Linked DNA regions of Homo sapiens: region 1 is linked to region 2. Evidence: promoter capture Hi-C in 16 types of primary human blood cells and fetal thymus (Javierre and others, 2016). All regions are on one chromosome and are shown on one strand. The core of a region is centred on a gene start or on the middle of the fragment in contact, and the rest is flanking DNA. Distances in the headings are between cores, read along the strand shown. Region 1 overlaps LINC00662 (long intergenic non-protein coding RNA 662). Region 2 holds the start of POP4 (POP4 ribonuclease P/MRP subunit).

Region 1 (4,957 bases), core at 427-2,926, 1.8 Mb after region 2:
TATTTAATTTTTCTGTCTCTCCCTCTCTGTCTCAGACTCAATCATTTCACAGGTCTCTTAGGCCTCTTTTCATTTTCTTTAAACTTGTTTCAGTCTTCAGATTGGATGGTTTATATTGCTGTCTTCTGTTTCTACTCTGTAAACTAAAAGTTCTTTTTATTTTATTATTTTATTGTCTTCTATTTTACTCTTTTTATAATTTCCATGTCTCTGCTGAGACTCTACATGAGTTAATTCATTATGAGAATATTTTCCTTTACCCCCATGAACGTACTTATAATAGCTGCCCTGAAATACTTGTCTGCTGATTACATCATCTCGGACATCTTAGAAATAGCTTCTGCTGCCTGCTTTTTATCTTGTGTATAGTTTGCATGTTACATTTCTTCACACATTTTATGAATTTTAATATTGTGTAATAGAAATTATAAATATTAGTTATAGAGACTAAATTCTGTTGTATTCTTTGGAAGAGCATTGTTATTATTTGAAGAGGGGGTAAATGTGGCTGAATTCAAACAGAATAATTATCTTCCCTACGGTGGGAAAGGTTGAAATTCTCATTCAGTCACACACACGTATGTATGTATTGTATATAGATGAATGTTTCTATGTAACTATATATAATATTTTATCCAGATTGTATCATTGTTATCTGTGAGAGTGTTAGTTTAGCAAGCTACTCCAGTATTACCGGAAGCCAGAACTTCAGTTTTGTTTTCTTACTGGATTTTATGTAAATGAGAGTATCTACTATGGATAGTTTTACACCTACTTTTTCTTTTTTTCTTTTTTAGTTATTTGAGACAGAGTCTCGCTCTGTCACCAGGCTGTACAGTGCCGTGGCCTGTCTCGGCTCACTGCAACCTCCACCTCCTGGGTTCAAGCGATTCTTATGCCTCAGCCTCCCAAGTATCTGGGACTACAGGCATGCGCCACCACGCCCAGCTGATTTTTGTATTTTTAGTAGAGACGGGGTTTCACCATGTTGACCAGGATGGTCTCAATCTCTTGACCTCGTTATCCGGCTGCCTCCTCCTCCCAAAGTGCTGGGATTACAGGCGTGAGCCACCATGCCTGGCCACATCTACTTTTTTAAATGTGTCATTATATTTGTGATATTGTCATGATGTTTTCTACTTATATTTTATTCAAAAATTTTATACTTTAAGTTCTTACCTTTAGGTCTTTGATGCATTTTTATTTGTTTATGGTGTAGGGTAAATGTTCAACTTCATCCTTTTGCTTGTGGATATCCATTTTTTCCCAGCACCAATTGTTATAAAGACAGTCCTTTGCCCATTGAACGGTCTTTGTATCCCCATCAAAAATTATTTGACCATATGCTGCTTTATACTGTTCCAGTGTCCATATGTGTGTCTCTTTGCCAGTACCACACTATTTTGGAACTTTGTATTAAGCTTTGGAATGAATAAGTGTACATTTTGTAACACTGGACTTCTTTTTCAAGATAATTTTGACTCATTGGGGTCCCTTGAGATTCCATATGAAATTTAGGTAGGATTTTTCTATTTCTGCAAAATAGAATTTTTTGCTTTTTTTGTTACTCCCGACGTATTTTATTCTTTTCAGTGCTATTGTAAATGTGCTTGTTTGCTTAGTTTTGTTTTCTAATTATTCATCATTACTGTATAGAAACACAAGTGATATTTGCATGTTAATTTTGTATGCTGCTACTATGCTGAATTTATTAGTTGTAATACTTTTTGTGTGGATCTGTGAAATCTCTAGAGCTTTCCACATAAAATTATATTATCTGTAGGCTAGAGTAATTTTACCTCTACATTTCCAATTTGGATAGTTTGTTTCTTTTTAATTCTTAATTTGACTAGAACTTCCAACACTATGTGGAATAGAAATAGCAAAAGCAGACACCTTTGCCTTGTTCCTGAGCTTAGAGCAGAAGCTTTTTGTCTTTCACCCTGGAGTACATTGTTTGATGTGGTTTTTTAATGTGTGGATTTCACAATGGTAGTATTTTAGTTTTAAAATTCCTACTTTTTTGAGTGTTTTCACCCTGAAAAGATTTTGAATTTCATAAAATACTTTTCTCTGCATCCATGAGGTGATCAATGTTTCTTTTATTTTGTTAATGTGTACACATTGATCAATTTTTATATGTTAAAAAATTCATGTTTTAAGATATCCTTGCATTCTAAGAATAAATTGCACTTGGTCGTGGTGAGATCATCTTTCTTTTTTTTTAAATTTTATTATTATTATACTTTAAGTTATAGGGTACATGTGCACAATGTGCAGGTTAGTTACATATGTATACATGTGCCATGCTGGTGTGCTGCACCCATTAAATTGTCATTTAGCATTAGGTATATCTCCTAAAGCTATCCCTCCCCGCTCCCCCCACCCCACAACAGTCCCCAGAGTGTGATGTTCCCCTTCCTGTGTCCATGTGTTCTCATTGTTCAATTCCCACCTATGAGTGAGAATATGCAGTGTTTGGTTTTTTGTTCTTGCGATAGTTTACTGAGAATGATGATTTCCAATTTCATCCATGTCCCTACAAAGGACATGAACTCATCATTTTTTATGGCTGCATAGTATTCCATGGTGTATATGTGCCACATTTTCTTAATCCAGTCTATCGTTGGACATTTGGGTTGCTTCCAAGTCTTTGCTATTGTGAATAGTGCCGCAATAAACATACGTGTGCATGTGTCTTTATAGCAGCATTATTTATAGTCCTTAGGGTATACACCCAGTAATGGGATGGCTGGGTCAAATGGTATTTCTAGTTCTAGATCCCGGAGGAATCACCACACTGACTTCCACAATGGTTGAACTAGTTTACAGTCCCACCAACAGTGTAAAAGTGTTCCTATTTCTCCACATCCTCTCCAGCACCTGTTGTTTCCTGACTTTTTAATGATTGCCATTCTAACTGGTGTGAGATGGTATCTCATTGTGGTTTTGATTTGCATTTCTCTGATGGCCAGTGATGGTGAGCATTTTTTCATGTGTTTTTTGGCTGCATAAATGTCTTCTTTTGAGAAGTGTCTGTTCATGTCCTTCTCCCACTTTTTGATGGGGTTGTTTGTTTTTTTCTTGTAAATTTGTTTGAGTTCATTGTAGATTCTGGATATTAGCCCTCTGTCAGATGAGTAGGTTGCAAAAATTTTCTCCTATTTTGTAGGTTGCCTGTTCACTCTGATGTAGTTTCTTTTGCTATGCAGAAGCGCTTTAGTTTAATTAGATCCTATTTGTCAATTTTGGCTTTTGTTGCCATTGCTTTTGGTGTTTTAGACATGAAGTCCTTGCCCATGCCTATGTCCTGAATGGTAATGCCTAGGTTTTCTTCTAGGGTTTTTATAGTTTTAGGTCTAGCAGAGCCCTCAGAAATAACACCACATATCTACAATTATCTGATCTTTGATAAACCTGAGAAAAACAAGCAATGGGGAAAGGATTCCCTATTTAATAAATGGTGCTGGGAAAACTGGCTAGCCATACGTAGAAAGCTGAAACTCGATCCCTTCCTTACACCTTATACAAAAATTAATTCAAGATGGTGAGATCATCTTTCTAATATGCTGCTGAATTTTATTTGCTGGAATTTTGTTGAGTTTTGCATCTGTGTTCATAAGGGATAATTAATCTGTAGTTTTCTGTAGTGTCTTTTTCTGGCTTTGATATACGGTAATGCTGAGATTGTGGAATGAGTTTGGAACTGATCTCTCCTTTTCAATTTTTTGGAAGAGTTTGAAAAAGATTTTCAGTCTTTCAAAATGTTTGGTAGAATTAACTACTGAAGCCATCAGGTCAAGGGCTTTTCTTTGTCAGCAGGTTTTTGATTTTTGATTTGATTTCCTTATAAGTTATGGATCAATTCAATTTTTCTATTCTTGGTAATCAAGTCTTGCTAGGTTTTTTATACCTAGAAATTTGTCCATTTCATCTAGATTGTTCATTTTGTTGTCACACAGTTGTTCACAGTACACTCTTTAAAACATTTTATTTCTTAGAATCAGGCAGGCAGATCATGAGATCAGGAAATTGAGACCATTCTGGCCAATATGGTGAAACCCTGTCTCTACTAAAAATACAAAAATCAGCTGGGCATGGTGGTGCATGCTTCTAATCCCAGCTACTTGAGAGGCTGAGGCAGGAGAATCGCTTGAACCTGGGAGGCGGAGGTTGCAGTGAGCTGAGATCGGGCCACTGCACTCCGGCCTGGTGACAGAGCGAGACTCTGTCAAAAAAAAAAAAAAAAAAAGAAGAATTAGTAGTAATGTCCCCATCTCATTTCTCATTCTACTATTTTGAGTATTCTGTAATTTTTTTCATAGTGTAGCTAGAAGTTTGTGAATTTGTCAACATTTTTGAAGAACCAAGAACCAACTTTTGGTTTTGTTGGTTTTCTGTTTTTCTGGTCTCTATTTTCTTTATCTCTACTAAGATCTTCATTATTTTCTTCTTTCTGTTTATTTCGTGCATAGTTCATTCTTTTTCTAATTTGTTAGGTCATAAAGTTAGGTTATTGATTTGAGACCCTTCGTCTTCTTCTTCTTCTTCTTCTTCTTTTTGTTTTGTTTTTTTGACAGAGTCTCACTCTGTTGCCGAGGCTGTAGTGAAGTGGTGCAATCTCAGCTCACTGCAACCTCCACCCGCTGAGTTCAAGCGATTCTCCTGCCTCAGCCTCCTGAGTAGCTTGGATTACAGATGCCCGCTACCATGCCCGGCTAATTTTTGTATTTTTAGTAGAGACAAGGTTTCACCATTTTGGCTAGGCTAGTTTCAAACTCCTGACCTCAGGTGATCCACCTGCCTGGCCTCCCAAAGTGCTGGGATTACAGGCATGAGCCACCACGCCCAGCCAAGGCCCTTCTTTAATGTGTTTATAGCTATAAATTTCTGATCTTCACACTGCTTTTGTGCATCTCATAACTTTTGGTATGTTGTATTTTCATTTTCCATTCTC
Region 2 (5,183 bases), core at 2,025-4,524:
CACTGCCCTCATGCCTGCCACAGACCTGGGCAGTTCTCTCTCCTGAGGGCCTGTCTCCTGGCTGGGCTGTTTCCTGAGCTCTTTTTGCACTAGCCAGGTGCTAAATGCTAAGACTGAGGCTGACAGACTGATGCTGATCTGTCAATAGTAACGCAGCCTTCCTTCTGTGGGAGAGCAATGGGGATGGGAAGATAGGGTACATATAGCCTTCGAGGGAGCTCACAGTATGATGGTGGGAACTCTGCTTCAGCTTTGCACCTGTAGATGCTAACTAAAAATTAATTCACTCTCGTCATTGTGACTATAATAGGACAATGATCTGATTCTCTTAAATACCTGAGTGGCTCATCTTTCATGGAGAAGCAAAATAAAGGTATACTGGTCTTTCAAAATCTTGCTTTCAAGGTAATGCTCTCATTATGAGCCACAAGAGGAACTTTTGCAAAACTGACAAAGCAGGCCGAGGCATTCAGATATAATCTGTAAATTTCACTTATGATATGTGATTGCACACCTTCTGCAGAAGTGCAGAGGGCACAGTGACAAGGTTGAATGATGCTGCCCACCACGTGGGCACAGCCTGGTGTCCCCAACACAGTGGGAAATGATAAAAGGTTAAGGAAAGCCTCATTTTACCAAACTTGACTTTGGCACAACAGAAAAGGAGGCTGGCACGTGGGAACAGGTAATGAGAACTACAGACTTTGATCCAGCCTTAGATGTCTGCCAGAAAAATGAGGAGTATGATGTGGGAAAGGACATCTCAATCAGTGCTGGGGGCTCAGAAGCTACTGAGCCATCTTTGCCATCACCTCTGTTGCTCCTGGACTCCCTGCCAAGAACTGACCTGGACATCGGAGTCATTCGCCTCTTTCTGAGACAATGCATGGTAGATCACACCTGGGGGATTAAAAAAAAGAAATGATCAATTCTTGTTGGGTATGGCTGTAAGACCCAAGACTTTTCTAACTATGAAAATAACTACGCCACTAGGCGCAGTGGCTCATACCTGTAGTCCTAGCACTTTGGGAGGCCAAGGCGGGCGGATCCTGACCCAAGGTCAGGAGTTCAAGACCGGCCTGGCCAACATGGTGAAACCCCGTCTCTACTAAAAATACAAAAATTAGCCGGGGATGGTGGCTTGCACTTGTATTCCCAGCTACATGGGAGATTGAGGCAGGAGAATCGCTGGAACCTGGGAGGCAGAGGCTGCAATGCGCCAAGATCGTGCCATTGCACTCCAGCCTGGGTGACAGAGTGAGACTCTGTCTCAAAAAAAAAAAAAAAAAAAAAAGAAAAGAAAAGAAAAGAAAATAACTACACTTCTACACTTATAGCAGAACAACTGCTTATTCAGAGATAGGAGAAGATGAGGTTGGTATTAAGAGCAAAGCTTTCTTGGATGCCTCTTATCCCACCCTCTGGCCACATCTATGCTAGAAGTTCCAAGCACATGGTTTAAAAAGAATGCTTCTCAAAATTTAACGTGTGTAAAAATCTCTGGGATCTTATTAAAATGCAGATTATTGGTCTCCTACCCTAGATCCTGAGTGTTTAACATATTCCCAGATACTACTGCAGGTCAGTGAATCACATTTTGAGTTGCATTGGTTTAAAATACCCCAAGTTAGAAGCTTGAGCACTTGCTAACAAGGTAACTCATTAAAAGTTATATGATATAGCTGTCTAGGATGTAGATGGTTAGAAATAGGTTTTGTTAACTGTAAGATGTTTAAAAAGATTCTTCACATTTTAATATGAAATTATAATGTGTCACATAATCGATGGTGTCCTGAACTGATAAAATACAAGTTTTTCCTTTAAACTCAAAATATACATTGGTCAATAAAGTTTCAACCTCTAAAATAAATTCCACACTTCTGTTTCTTAATTTTTTGAAAGAAGAAAACCATGGCACTGGGGACAGAGTACAGGTGTGAATGGAATAAGAATGGGACTACTAAGGCCTGGTTTATGAGCTAAATAGCTAGAAAATGTAATTTACACTATACTCTGTAAATTTAATTCCAGCTTTCTTGTACTTCCCTGAGAATGTTTGATGCAAGGTGGTTACAAGTTTTTTTTTTTTGTTGTTTGTTTGTTTGTTTTGATACTGGGTTTTGCTCTGTTGCCCTGGCTGGAGTGCAGTGGCACAATCATAGCTCACTGCAACTTCGACCTCCTGGTTTCAAGTGATCCTCCCACCTCAGTCTCCTGAGTAGCTGAGACTACAGGTGTGTGCCACCACACCTGGCTAATTCTTTTTTTTTTTTTCCAGTTTTTGTAGAGACAGGGTCTCGCTATGTTGTTGCCCAAGTTGGTCTTCAACTCTTGGCCTCAAGTGATCCCCCTGCCTCAGCCTCCCAAAGTGCTGGGACCACAGGCGTGTCCCACCACACCCAGCCAGGTATGTTTGTTTGATCAAGCAAACCAATGTGGTTGCAAGTTTTATATATAGCATCTAGTTCTCCCTCAAATGGAAGATGGGGATTATAAACTGTAGAGAGCAACTTGCGGGGCCTGATAACTTTGCTTCATCTGTTACAGGTGCTTAGTAACAGACTTGGAAGTCTTTCTGCAACAATACACATCTAACAATTACTGAACATCCATTACTTGCCAGAAACCTCATTACAAGGTACACATATTTTTTCTCATTACACTTATGTGCATGAGCAAACTGAAGCTCAGACATGCCGAGACAATCTACTTGATCATATAGGTAGAAAGTGGCAGAGATGAAAAATAAAAATTCTGATTGAAGGCCCAGTCTTAACGGTGTCTACACGCCCCTCCTTGGCACATGTCTTCTACCCCTAAGGACCAAAGCTTTGGGTTAGTGATATCATTCCCCAGCAGCTCTCGGCGCTTTGCATCAGGTTAAGAGTGTGAAACCAGCTCGCAGAAAGGAGCAGGATCTTGACCGCGGTCACCCCGGGAGATAGTGGCCAAGTTGAGCCAAGGCCTGGAACCCTCCTCTAGCATCGCACACCACTGAGCAGCCTCCGGGAGAACCTGCCTCCAGCCCTGACATCCCTCCCTAGCTCAGAGGTCGAGCCAGGCTAACCCGTGCTCCAGCCCTCAGTTTTTCTTAGGTAGGGTGGGCCCATTCCTGTAGCGGTTCTGTTAGGACTCCGCAGCAACAGGTAGCCCGGACCCATTTCACCCACCAGTACCAAGACCCCGACCCTTAACGTCCCCAACCCTCTCCAACTTCGCGGCCCCGCTTACTCTTCATTCTCGGACCGCTTCCGGCGCTCTCTGATGACGCACTGGCAGCTGCTGTCGCAGACTCTCGGAGCTCGGAGATGGCGCTATGCGTGACATCACCGGCGCTCGCCCACCTCGGGGGCGCATGCGCCTGGAAAGGGATTCGGCTACTGAGAACGTCGTAGGCGGTGTTGCTGAGCAGTGGGGAGGAGTGGGCTCGCTTCCTGGGGTCTTTTCCGCCTGCATCTTTTGGGGGACAGGCAGTAGGGTTGGGGTAAAGGCATGTGGAATGCTTGCTAAGGCCTGGAGTGGAGCGAGGCGAGGCGACTTGGAGAGGACTCGAAGGAGGTTGGGGATCTGGGAGGGCGGAAATGGGACGGGGACGGTGGGGTGAGGTCTTTGTCGTCCCTAATCAGCGCCCTTACGGATGAGCCGAGGCAGCTTCCGCTGTGAGCACGGGCACCGAAGCTGGGACAGCAGGCTTAGGTTCTAGTTCCGTGTCTGCTGCTAACTAGCTGTTTAACCTCGCTTAGGGCACTTCCCATCTGTAAGCCTCACTTGCAGTCTGTGCTGTGAGTGGGGTCGGCCTCACAGGTAGTGATGCGCCGCCTGGGTCCCTTTGATAGTTTCAGAAAGCTTTCTTGAGACTCAGAATATTTATTAGTTTTTATCAATAAAAAAATCATAGCAATAAGATCAAAGGTGGCTCACACCGTGGGAGGCGCAGGCGGGAGGATCTCTTGAGCCCAGGAGTTCGAGACCAGCCTGGGCAACATCGGGAGACCCCATCTCTACAAAACATTTAAAAAAAATTATCCAGGCGTGGTGGTGCGTGCTTGTAGTCCCAACTACTCGGGTATCTGAGGTGGGAGGATCAGTTGAGCCCAAGGAGTTTAGGGCTGCAGTGAACCTGGATTGCGCTACTGCACTCCAGCCTGGGTGACAGAGTGAGACCCTGTCTCCAAAATAAATAAATAAATTCCATATAAATAAATAAATGAATAAACAAACTCCATTGCTCAGTGGAAAGGTGCAGGAAGGCCTGGTGCAGACTTCTCAGCAGTGACCCAGTGTTGGGCAGAACTGTGGAGCCCCAATTTCTGCTGAGCACTGGGCCTGTGCTGGGTGGGAGAGAAAAGAAATACGGTCCCTTTATGCTAAGTCAGTGGTTCTCAACTTTGAGTACAGTATACATTTCTTTACAGGGGATTCTGGGAGTATGTCCAAAGGTTTTAGTTTGAGAAACATTGGCTTAAACAATTTCTTTGGTGGTGACCTTGTACCATTTTGATTTTAAACATTAGACTGCAGGCACTGAAATTGGTTCATCCCAGTGACCCCGCGTGCATTGACTTTATAAAATTTATGTATTAGTTTTTGCATATGTAGTACACTTATGCATTTATTTTATACGTATAAAATTTGGAAAGACCACATTTAAACCAAAACATGCTGCCTTTGCAGATGCCTGAAAATTGTAATTTATGGGACTGATAGAGAACTTTTATTATTTTTAAAATTAACCAATAAGAATTGTATGTATTTATGGTATACAATATGGTTTGAAATGTGTATACATTGTGTAATGGCTAAATGAGCTATGAGCGATGCTAATACACTCATTTTGTGATGAGAACACTTCAGACCTACTCTCAGTGAAATTCAGGTTATTAACTGAAATTCACTGTTATTAACTATAGTCACCATGTTGTACAATAGAGCCCTTCACAAATGTGAACTTTAAAATCAAATGAGACAGCAGAAGATGTTAGCCAGTTTCAGAGCTGTGTACTCAAGGGGGGCCCTTTTAGGCAAGACCTCTGTGATTATGGAGATTAATGAGAAGACCTGTGTCTTTGAAAGTTTTTTTCTAGGGTTGTTAGGACTCTTAACTCCCAGTTGACTCCTTCTGGGATCCCTGGATAACTGCCAGTCTCCCCTCGAATTCCCTGATGGTGGTGGGGTGGGTCGTC

What was found. The method cuts DNA at HindIII sites, captures the fragments that hold promoters and counts their contacts. A CHiCAGO score of 5 or more calls a contact.
Region 1: a fragment that was not itself captured here is called in contact with the fragment with the promoter of POP4 in region 2 in 3 of 17 cell types (total CD8 T cells, naive CD4 T cells and total B cells); the score reaches 6.2 in total CD8 T cells.

The regions. Positions count from the first base shown.
Region 1 is chr19:27,787,742-27,792,698 of GRCh38, reverse strand. LINC00662 (long intergenic non-protein coding RNA 662) reads left to right here. Exons shown (of 3, transcript NR_027301.1): 3 at 798-2,206. Among named protein-coding and RNA genes, the nearest start is that of LINC02987, 3.2 kb to the left of the region's middle. The HindIII fragment of the contact is 506 bases long and covers 1,424-1,929 here.
Region 2 is chr19:29,604,374-29,609,556 of GRCh38, reverse strand. It overlaps POP4 (POP4 ribonuclease P/MRP subunit), which reads right to left and starts at 3,274. Exons shown (of 7, transcript NM_006627.3): 1 at 3,232-3,274; 2 at 848-900. The coding sequence starts at 3,238. RefSeq lists an enhancer at 3,132-3,621. The HindIII fragment of the contact is 1,017 bases long and covers 2,832-3,848 here.